Linked DNA regions of Homo sapiens: region 2 is linked to region 1. Evidence: promoter capture Hi-C in 16 types of primary human blood cells and fetal thymus (Javierre and others, 2016). All regions are on one chromosome and are shown on one strand. The core of a region is centred on a gene start or on the middle of the fragment in contact, and the rest is flanking DNA. Distances in the headings are between cores, read along the strand shown. Region 1 holds the start of DNTT (DNA nucleotidylexotransferase). Region 2 overlaps CCNJ (cyclin J).

Region 1 (5,995 bases), core at 1,423-3,922:
ATTTATCAAAGCACATTGACATGCATTATCTCATTTGGTGATCACATCAGATAGGCCATTTATCAGGATATTAAAATCAGTCGGGAGAGAGGGGACCTTGTCCCATACCCCATGGCTGGGGAGGCTCAGAGCCAGGATTTGAGGTTTCTAAATTTCGTATCTAGAGATTTGTCCCCTACAATAATTTTTATTTCTCTATCCAATTAAAGTCTATATATCTATGCACAGAAATTCCGTTTGAGACCTAGGACTTCTACTTCCTGTGGTTTATTTTTGCGCCATAGAGCACATTTGTATTTAATGTGTCTTCTGAGCTACCAGCCTGGGAACTTTGCCATCATCACATGCACAGCGGCAGTTTGCTCACCATGCACCAGTGAGCTTCCTCCGCCGCCTGAGCAGCTGGGCTTGGTCCCTGGCAGCAGGCATCTGGGGCATGTAGCTGCCTCTTCAGCTGTCCTGCCAACAGAAGAAACTTACCTCCCATCATCTCCCTGAGTGCCTGCCTCAGCCGCCTTGTATGTATTCATTGCTGTGTCTATAATAAATCAGCGGGTCCTTGCTGGAAGCTTGGACGTTTCAATGGAGAGCTTTCCAGTAAGTGGTGCTTCTGGTTCTTTCCTTCCTGCCTAACCCTTGTCAAATTTCTTTACCATGAAAAGCAGTTCCATATTTGCTAAGGCTTTTAATTTCTTTTCCAAAAAATCTATTTTTGGCCAGACGTGGTGGCTCATGCCTGTAATCCCAGCACTTTGGGAGGCCAAGGCAGGCGGATTACAAAGTCAGGAGATAGAGACCATCCTGGTCAACATAGTGAAACCCCGTCTCTACTAAAAACACAAAAATTAGCTGATTGTGGTGGCGCGTGTCCGTAGTCCCAGCTACTTGGGAGGCTGAGGCAGGAGAATCACTTGCACCTGGGAGGCGGAGGTTGCAGTGAGCCGAGATTGTGCCACTGCACTCCAACCCGGGCAACAGAGCAAGACTCTGTCTCAAAAAAAAAAAAAAAAAAATCTATTTTTTTGGCTTCTTTACCTATATAATCTTCCTGTCTTCTCCAACTCTAGCCTTCTATGTAAGTCTGTAATATCAGGCAGGCTTAACAGTTAGATGAAATCTAGGATTTTCTTGGAAAGGATGTTAGAAAATGAGATTCAGAGTGGCTGTAGGAGGTTACAGAGAGGCAGCAAGAGAGAAAAGGAGACCTTGCAAAGAGAAATCAGGTGGAAGAAGGGCCATAGGAAATTCAGGAATTTCTGAATGGGGCATTTTAGCAAAAAATGAATGAAAAGTCAATGTCATATGAATCAGGGTGTTGCGAACATTAACATATCTGAAAATTGACTTTTGAAATATGTCTCCTCAACACTTGGAAGCTGACATTTCTTCTGCATGACATGCTTGTCAGTTTTATTTTCAAATATCAAAGACTATTTATACAATCAAAATGTCCTTTCACATAAAATTTTTATAGTTTTGCCTGAAAATTTGTGGTCAATTTATTTCTTGCACAGTCAAAGCGGTCAACTGCATAAATCATTACTCCTTCATTGCAAGCCCCTTAACAGTTTAATCCAGAACCATCACTTATGTCAAGGTTCTAATACCATTTGTTTCTGGATTTTGCTTGTTTTCTCTTCATCTATTTGAGATCAGTGAAGAGCTTACACAGAAGTTAGAAAAACAACAAGAATAATTGCTGTTCAAGGTGAGTGGATTAGTGAGTGAACCAATCTAGGTGGTCCAAATGCTTCTATCGCCTCCTTGCCTGGGCTCTGATTACATCTCACTCAGTGTGATGTCTGTCATCCCTGGACAGAGCTGTCTTAACAGTGAATACATCTTTACCTAGCATCTCTCTTTCTAAGAACCCCACTAGGACCACTCTTTGGAAAAATGTGGTCAAGGCCACATCTGGGTGCCTGTGGTAAGCTGGCTAGTCATCCTCGCCCACCACAGATGCTAGCTGCCTTAGCACGCCCAGATGTATAGGTAAGAACCAAGCAACCAAATCATCTTTCTGCATCAAAGTAGCCAAAACTTTTTTGTTGAACCCAGTGATACTTTGTTCAAATTGGTCAAGAATAGAATTGAGTGGTTCAGCATTAAATTTTCCAATTAGTGTTCTGCTTATCATCCCTAAATAACACATCTCATAGGAGTGAAAAGCAAAAAACAAAAAATTTATCTCATCTTTTGGTGTCAACTAGTTTCAATATAATTGTATTCAGTCCCCACTTATCTCGTTTTCCTTAACTAGTTGTTCTTTGATTTCAAATCTGCTGTTCTCCCAGTGGGAAGATCACCTCTTCCACATGTGGAAGAAAACACAGGTTCCTTGGGTTCCCAAGAAGCTGTTCACAAAGCCTCTGCTTATTTACAAAGCAAGATCGATGCTGTCCTACCTGAGCTCATTTTCAACCCTGAACCCTTTCCTGCGGGCCAGCTCCATGAGGAACGCTCTGCGGGTGGTTCCCATTTTCTTCTCCAAAATGAAGACGACCAAATCTTGAAATTTGATGTCTTGAGGAGAGGAGGCCATCAAGGCACCCGTCTGCCGGGGTCTCTTCTTCCGAGGGCTCAAGTGGGACGCTCGTGGTGGATCCATGGGAAGAGGCTGCTGCTGCCTCTGGCTGGCCCATCTGGTGGTGTCTCCAGAAGGGAGGGAGACTGCCACCCTCCTACACGAAGGGTTTTGATGTCATCTCACCAGCAGACTCTGAAGCCAGGCCAGGGCTTCACAGGTGCTGCCCTGGCAACAGCTTCCTGCCAAAGTGTGATGGGGAATTTTTATCTCTGTTCAGTTCATTTGTCCAATATGGAGATCATAATGAAGACAGTCAATTAACTTTTGTTTTCATACGCACAATCTCATTAGCTCCTCAGAGTAACCTCGTGAGGAAGGTAGGGAAGCATCATTGTTTGCATGTTATTTATTTCTAAATGTACTGAGGCCCTTCTGTGGTCTTTATTTATTGATCCCCTTTAAACCTCCCAACTCACTTGCATTCTCCTCCTTTTGTAGACAATCATTACACTGTACTGGATGTCTGTTATTTGCATGGGTGTTATATTCTGCTTGTGGTTGTTTTGACTTTACATAAATGGCATTGTTACATTTCTCATTTTGCCAATCACCTTTTTATTTCACTTGGAACTATGTTTTCCAGATCCGTATTCTAATTGCTCTGTTGCTTCTAACTGCTCCATAGTATTTCATGGTGGGTATTACCACCTGTTCACTTACATAGGTACATTTTATAAGCAAGAGAACCAAGGCTCAGTTATTCAAGATCACAGAATAAGGGGCCAAGCCATATCTTGAATTCAGTTCTTTGGATTCCAAATGCTGTATGCATATATTAGTTTTTTAAGTGGATTAAGGTTGTCCAGAGAGTAGTCTGTTATAAACCCTAAAATAGGTCTTCTTCAGTGGGATGGTATGACTTTTAGATGATAACCACTGCCATAAGGAGACATTTTCATAACTTTATGTGCAAAATTAAATTTGTCTTTCACCAATACACTCTATAGATCTCATTTCCTGAGCAGCTACTACACGGCCAAGGCAAGCACCTACCAGCCTTAGCTGACAGGATCCTCACAATACCACTGTCAGGTGGTCCTACCTTTCTCATTTGGCTAAACAATTTGCCCAAGGTCACAGAGCTACTGAATTTTCACAACTGAGAAATGATTGAGCTAGGATTTGGACTCAGATCTGTCTGATTTTAAAAGACTACTCTTAACCACCAAGGAGCCTTCCTCTGTATTGTCTTCTCCAATAACCAATCTGAGCTCTGCTCACCCTTTGTCCTTTTTTTTTTTTTTGGAGATGGAGTTTCGCTCTTATTGCCCAGGCTAGAGTGCAGTGACACAATCTCAGCTCACTGCAACCTCCACCTCCTGGGTTCAAGCGATCCTGCTACCTCAGCCTCCTGAATAGCTGGGATTACAGGCGCACGCCACCACGCCTGGCTAATTTTTGTATTTTTAGTAGAGATGGGGTTTCACCATGTTGGTCAGGCTGGTCTTGAACTCCTGACCTCAGGTGATCGGCCCACCTCGGCCTCTCAGAGTGCTGGGATTACAGGTGTGAGCCACCATGGCTGGCCGTCTGTGCCATATTATTTGAGACTTTTGCTATCTCCAAAACACGTGAGCACCTCACAACCGTATTAGGGGAAGAGTCATGTGACAGCTGCCTTAAGGCATGGGTAAAGCACTCTGTGTTGCTCAAGAAAGCAAAATCAGAAATCTTCAGGTGGAAATTGTAGAGTAATAGATTCCAGTTCTCCGCAAGTAAGACCTGTTTAGTAACTCAGCTGTCTAAAAATATACAGAGAGCAGCTTTATACAGTTGTGTGTTACAAGTCATGAAAAGTATTCAAACAGATGCTGGATAACTGTTTATTGAGCTGTAACAGAAGGGAATTCAGACATCTGGTAAGGGCCTATAATGCAGCCCTGAAATTCCCGGATGCTATGACTGTTTGCTAGAGATCAACTGGAAGATGAGAGTCTATTTTGACCCTCACTATTATGTGTTTGGTTACTGAAGAGCTGAATGCTTCATGTTAGAATGCAGTCTTAGCTACCAAATGGTGCTGCAGCAGGGAGTTAAGTAAATGATTCTAGCAAGAGTCTGGGATTGTTGTGTTCGTTCCCAAGGTATAGCCACCTAATAGTAAAGGTGCACCACCTAAGCAGTAAAGGGAATGGGGAGGTAGTACTGAGATGTGGCTAACAGCTCAGGCTTCGTCAGGCTGCCCATAAAAATTCTGTCTCTATTGCTCTGAAGCTTCAAAGCAAGTTGCTTAACTTCTTTAAGCCTCAGCTTTACCCCATCTGTAAAATGAGGACTGAGATAGCCCACATAACCTGCTGGGCAGAGTGCTTGACACAAAGGTAGCACTTTCAATAAATGTCAGTTCGTAGTAATTTATGTTTTGTTTTTAGAGACATTCCAGTTCAATCTGAAATCGGATATATATGTTTTGTGAAACTACTAAATCATCAAAATATCATATTAAACAATGTCACATTTTAATTTGCTTTGAGTCACTGGTATTGAAAACATTACCAACAAAAATTTCAAATGTACTGATGCCTGTCTGGTTATCAGGCTATCATCTCTCAGCTGCAAATCTACCTTTTTTCTGATGGATTCCATGAGGTTGAGGCTGGGACTGAGCAAATTCTCTTTCTCATTTGCCAGCTGACTTTATGTCAGGCTCTGCCAATGGTGATACCAGAGGGAGACTGAAAGTCTAGATAAGAGGAAAGAGGTGACCTTTTTTGTTTGCTTGCTGCTACAAAGGTCAGGGTCTTCGCAGTAATGGTTCTCTACTCAGACAGCAGTGATTGGTTCTAGTCTTTAGCTTTTTTCTTTTTCTTTTTTTCTTTTCTGCACAACCAGACCCAGTCTTACTGTACCCTTCAGAGGTATCAATACCACTTAGGTGACATCTCCTCAAAAGTCTGAGCCCCAGCTCTGCAGAGGTTTCCCTATGAAATTCTATGGCACCAGGGACGACAGGCAGCACTTCCTTATTAAAGATCTGTGTTCCAGCTCCATGGGAGCCCTGCTCCAAACTTCCAGTTTTCAACAATCCCAGCTCCATCCCTTTGTTGCTCCAGCCCAGTGGTGTAGTGTGCTTCTTGCAGTTTCTTTCTCTGAGTTACCTCAATGTCCTCTTTTTGCTTTTTCAGCAATTAATGTCTGTTAAACCAATCCCCTGTGGTGAAGGGAGGTGTGAAATAAGGTCTGAGAGCACAGATGTCTCATCGCCTTCTCAGGAACTAAATTAAATCGTGCTCATGAAGTGCCTTGAAAATAATAAAACACTATACAGAGTTCTCTTATGCTCTTTGGCATTGCTGCCAATAGCAGGAATTGATTTCTTCTTACTATACTATGATTTTCTGAAGCTCTTTGCATCAGATGTTGAGCACTCTCCTTGATCTACTAGATTGGTCAATAATCTCCAAATCT
Region 2 (5,347 bases), core at 1,039-3,538, 250 kb after region 1:
CAGGGTTCAAATTTTTTGGAACTTTTCCATTATGTATAGTAATAAATATTCAGATACATGGATATTAAAAGATTTCAAAAAGTGTGATAATGTCAATTGAGTACCTGCATTCCTATCTATAGTTTTTGTTGTGCTCACTGCTATGCCTATGTTCATTTTAAGTTTACTTATCCACATTACCACACACAGTTCACAAAGATCAGTTTCTTCAATTGAAAGGAAATAACAGAAGCCATGTGATTATATTGATAAAGGCCCCAAATAGGAAATAAGGGCACAGGAAATTCATATCTGCTTCCCAGAAAATAAAGAATTAGAGGCCACAGAAACAAAAACACTGGGTTGTCTTTCCTTTGTAGGATATGTTCATATCAGCCATGGAAACCAACACATTTTCAAAGCCAGCAGTGAATAGTAGGTATGTGGTAGAGAAGATTTATATACTGAATAGGGCACGGATCAGATGTCACCGAGTGCTCTGCCAACCCACATTCTATTTTTTTATTACTAAGTAGGGGGAAAAAAGTCATCCCTAACATACACTAAGAATTATCACAAATTTATAAAATGAATCTAATATAAAAATGGGCAAACAAAAGAAAAAGGTAATTCATAGAAAAAAATTCTGAGCTCATTAAAAATTGAGATGTAAATTAAACCAACTGTGAGATATAAATTTTCACACATCAGTAAAAAGCTTTGCTAACCCAGTGTTGGTTGGCAAGGGGAAACAAGCACTTGTTACAAATTGTTACTACTAAAAGCCTCTGTCTCACTTTTCACTTTGTCTTGACTCCAAGATCATTTCTTAGTTATGTAAGATCTTGAGCAAATTATGAGAAATCTTATCTCCAAGATTACTTCCACATGCTCCATAAATGTAATGTTGGTCACAGAAGCCAAGGGAAGCCAGGGCATACATGTGAAAGAGTTGGAATAGGAGAACTTCCCTGGACAAATTAGGGTCCAGTTTGAAATAGGTCAAAACCTTTAGGGTAAAGGAGGCAGGCTAAAGGTAACAGAGCAACTTATGGAGGAATTAATAATTACCATGCTAATCTTTTAATGTTTCCATTTCCTACATGCTTTTAAACATATTACCCCCACTTGATCCCAGAACAACTTTGTAAGGTATCTTTATTTCCATCTTATAAAGAAATAACCTGAGATTCAGGGGTTGTTGAAATTCATATTGCTGATGAGACTCCAACCCAGGGAATCCATCACTATGGTCATTGCTCCAAAACACTACACATAGCTCTCCAATCAGAGATAATCTGTAGGCCCTTTCTTCTTCTAATAGTGTAGACATAAGCATTTGCTTCTAGAACTTACAAGGTATGCTCCATCTTTGGCCAAACCACCTACGGCTTCCCATTACAATGAACTCCACAAATTTAAAACAGGAATCAGACACTGAAAAGAGTTTATCAGTTTATAAGAATCCTAAGCTCTTCTGCTGTAAAGTTACAGACTAGGGTTGGGGGGCAAGGGTAGAGAGACTGCTGCCTACTAAGGGCTAACCTCTTCAATTCCTGACCCTGGTGTAGAGCTGATAGCTCAAACTCTTTTGAACAACTTGCTACTTGGGAGGAGCAGAAATCCTGAAGAATACCTCACATACATTCCTACTCTCCAATGCAAAAGGAAGAATGTAAAAGCAATTCTTCCCTCAAGGAAAGGGAAATCAGGAGGCATCAGCAGAAAAAGGAGGGAGGTATCCAGTTCTTTCAGTAATAGGTGATAATTCATATTTGAACCCCAGCAAATACAGATCCTAATGTCTAATTACTGGAAAGAGTCACAAATAACTACATCTTACCACTGATATTAATCCAAATAGTTCAATAAAATAAATTGTTCATGACCTTAAACTAACAGAAATACACAATTTAAAAATAAGAACAATTGAAAACTCCATTCCAACCAACCTAAGATGGTACACAAAGATGGCCTTCCCACTTGGCCCACGCTACACTTTAAAAATCACAGGCATAGAGCAGGTGCTAGTGTTAAAATGACAGTGATAGCCACACAGTTACTTTCCATTAATGATACCAAGTTTTTAAAATAATCTAACTTGCATGTCTGATTTCCAGTGACACTCTACTGTAAACTGATTCTATAATAAACATTCTGTACAATAACAAAAATCCATTTTATTTGTGGACTCACACATCTAAACTGTCACGTGTGAGCTTTTCCAATCTTATACAAACTATTAAACCCCAAAGGGCTTCACAGCCAGTGATTAAACACATACAGTATTACACACATGATTACTTATGAGCATGAAACTTTAATTAGAGGCTAAATTAAAGGTTAATTATAAATGTACAAGCATTACCTCTCTGGCTCCTGGGTAGGGGGATGAGGGATGAGTGAAGTGTCTGAATTTTAGAGAACAGTAGATTAAGGGGAAATGTAGATATTCAGGAAGTAAATGGTATTCTAAGAATTTTGCTCAACGTACATGGGGATGAGACTGGAAAGGTGGCTGGGTCCAGATGAAAGATTCTAAACACTACATTAAGCAGTTTCCACCTTAATATATAGGCAGTGGGAAGTCATGCTGCAGCTGTGTTTTATTTACATTCAGCCTGGTTCTACAATGGATCTGAAATAACTTACAAAGGGACATTCTGGGGACAAAATAAGTAGTTGAGGTCATCAGATCAAAGGAAGAATAAAGGTCAGAAAATAAAATCTGAGAAGAGATTAGTACCAGAAATGATACTACATAGGACTACATTTGGTTTTAGATTTATAAGCAGCCAGGCACAGAAGTGCTAAAGAACTCTGGTGGCATGGATATAGGGGGAATGTTCCTTATTTCATCCCAGCCATATTTGACCCCAAAACCTCAAGGGAGAGTTAGAGGTGAAGGTTATCAGTATATCTACATACTCCTTTAAGATTCTATTATAATGACATGGATAATACAGAAACTACATTACTGATTTAACTTCAATATCAAATACAATCTTTATCCCTCAAGTGAGAGTTAAAAGTGAAGGTTATCAATACATCTACATACTATAAATTTCATTGTAATAACATGAATATAGAAACTATATTACTGATTCAACTTCCATATCAAATACAATCTTCCACATTATTAAAAGAAAAAAAAACACAATTTCAATTCCTTTACGTGCCCTATCTTCAGTGAGAGTACCAACGAGCAATGAAATGAGGTATAGGAAGATGTAAAGAGAAAGAGGGGCCAAAAGATCCACCAGTATATTCTGTACTAAGTAACAAATATGGTTGTATCAGATTGTATCTTGGAGCCTACTACACAGTTGGTCTAATGCATAAGCAAAAGTTTTCACATTTATAGTAGTTGCACATTAACTTTTAGTTCATTAAGCCAACTCATTATTTAGTCAGTAGAAAGTATTCTAATATAAGAATATGGTACTTTTAAGACAGTTTCTCAACTTTAGCTCCATTGATGTTTTGGGACAGAGAATTTTGTTATGGGAAACTGTCCTGTACACTACCGGATGTTTAGCAGCATCCCAGGCCTCTATGTACTAGATGCTAAAAAAGCATCTCCCACTTTATCACCAGATGTGACAACCAAAACGTCTGTACACGTTGCCAAGTGTTCCCTGTGGGACAAAACTGCTCCTGGTTTAGAACCACTGCTTTAAGACAATGGTTCTCAATTGGAAAGGTAAATCAAAATCACCTTTGGAACTTTTTCAAAAAGTTAAAAAATACCCAGTACCCATTATGTAGATTTTGTCTTAGTAGATCTGGAGTGGCCGAGAATGTACGGCTTAGGCACATGTTTTTAACAGGCTCCAAAGCCATTTTTCAATGTCTGGTTAAGAATTATTACACTGAGAAGCACTTTTAACATAAGCTTCTTGATACTAGTGAACTGGAATGAATGGGATTTGATGATATTTCACTGAGTTCTACATAAATTTATTTTATTATATAAACATCAGAAATTTCCAGTCATGTAAATCAGATTCATACTTACTTGCTAGAAGCAGGCAGGAAAGCGCAACTAAATGCAGCTGCTGGATAGAGATGTCATAGCGGTCCATAAACAGGTCCAGTAAATAGACAGCAAGATGGCGGGCAGAAGGGCAGAGTGTGAAGCGATTGCTCACAATGGCAATCAAGTCAGCAAAATACCGTCTGAGACTTAACTGAGGGGACTGGCCTTTATAGGAGGGCAACTTCAGCTCCTAAGTCAAAAGGAACAACATTTAGTCTGACCTATCTGTAGGCGTATCCCCACAAGGCAATGACTTAACATTGTTTTTCCAATATATTAGTATTACAAGTGCCTAAAACATACTTTTCTTGACTGGAATACAAAAATGAAAAAGTTAAGTGGAGGGATAATGAATGACATTTAAAACCAAATTTTTCTCCTTACTCTTAACCACTTCTGATGTGAACAATTATAGATGTTCTTGTTTCTTGCTTTCTAGAATGGATACATCCTACAAAGATTTTTAATAAGAGAATCCTGTTTTCCCTACCAGGTGTTTTCAGAAAAACATCCCTGACAAACCAACCACATACCACACACACGCCCCTACACCTCTCCAAGATGCTCAGAACTTTTGGTTAGAAGGTAATAGATAAGTGGATATGCTGCATACAGTATTATACTTGCAACAGTGTAGAAAGCAGTACCTTTCCTCTAGTATCTTCTAATTTTGTTTCCCTTTTAACAGTTTTATGATCTGCCCTTTCCCATCATCCTCTCATACACCTAAAATCACTTCAATCTCAGGACTATATTATATCAACTTGTTTTTTAAAAACTGGAAAAATTCTATACTATTAAAATATTTCCAGAGCATAGAGAAAGATGGAAAGCTTCCAAATTCATTTTATAAGATCAGCATAATACTGATACTAAACCCAACAGGTATCACAATAGAAGAAGTAACAGGGATACGATACCAAAAGCAGAACTTCCCCTACCCTGCAAAAAAAAAAAAAAAAAAGAAAAAGAAAAAGAAAAGAGAAATGGGACTTTAACAAAATTAAAAACTTTTGTTTAACAAAAGATGCTATCAACAGAGTAAAAGGGCAACCCGCAGAATGGATGAAAGTATTTATAATCATATCTGATAAGGGGTAAATAGCTAGATTATATAAATAACTTATACAACTGGATAACAACCAAAAAACCTAATTATAAAAATGGGCAAAGGATTTGAATAGACATTTCTCCAAAGAAGATACACACAAATGCCCAAAAAATATCATAAAACATGAAAAAGATGTTTGTTCAGCATCACTAATTATTAGGAAATGCAAATCAAAACCACTAACAGCACTTCACACCTAGTTGGATTGCTATTATCAA

The links. The method cuts DNA at HindIII sites, captures the fragments that hold promoters and counts their contacts. A CHiCAGO score of 5 or more calls a contact.
Region 2: a fragment that was not itself captured here is called in contact with the fragment with the promoter of DNTT in region 1 in 1 of 17 cell types (naive CD4 T cells); the score reaches 5.8 in naive CD4 T cells.

Annotation. Positions count from the first base shown.
Region 1 is chr10:96,301,111-96,307,105 of GRCh38, reverse strand. It overlaps DNTT (DNA nucleotidylexotransferase), which reads right to left and starts at 2,672. Exons shown (of 11, transcript NM_004088.4): 1 at 2,406-2,672. The coding sequence starts at 2,608. The HindIII fragment of the contact is 4,232 bases long and covers 572-4,803 here.
Region 2 is chr10:96,049,117-96,054,463 of GRCh38, reverse strand. CCNJ (cyclin J) reads right to left here. Exons shown (of 6, transcript NM_001134375.2): 3 at 3,998-4,208. The region is part of intron 2 of ENTPD1-AS1 (ENTPD1 antisense RNA 1); the gene reads left to right. Among named protein-coding and RNA genes, the nearest start is that of CCNJ, 8.2 kb to the right of the region's middle. The HindIII fragment of the contact is 3,177 bases long and covers 700-3,876 here.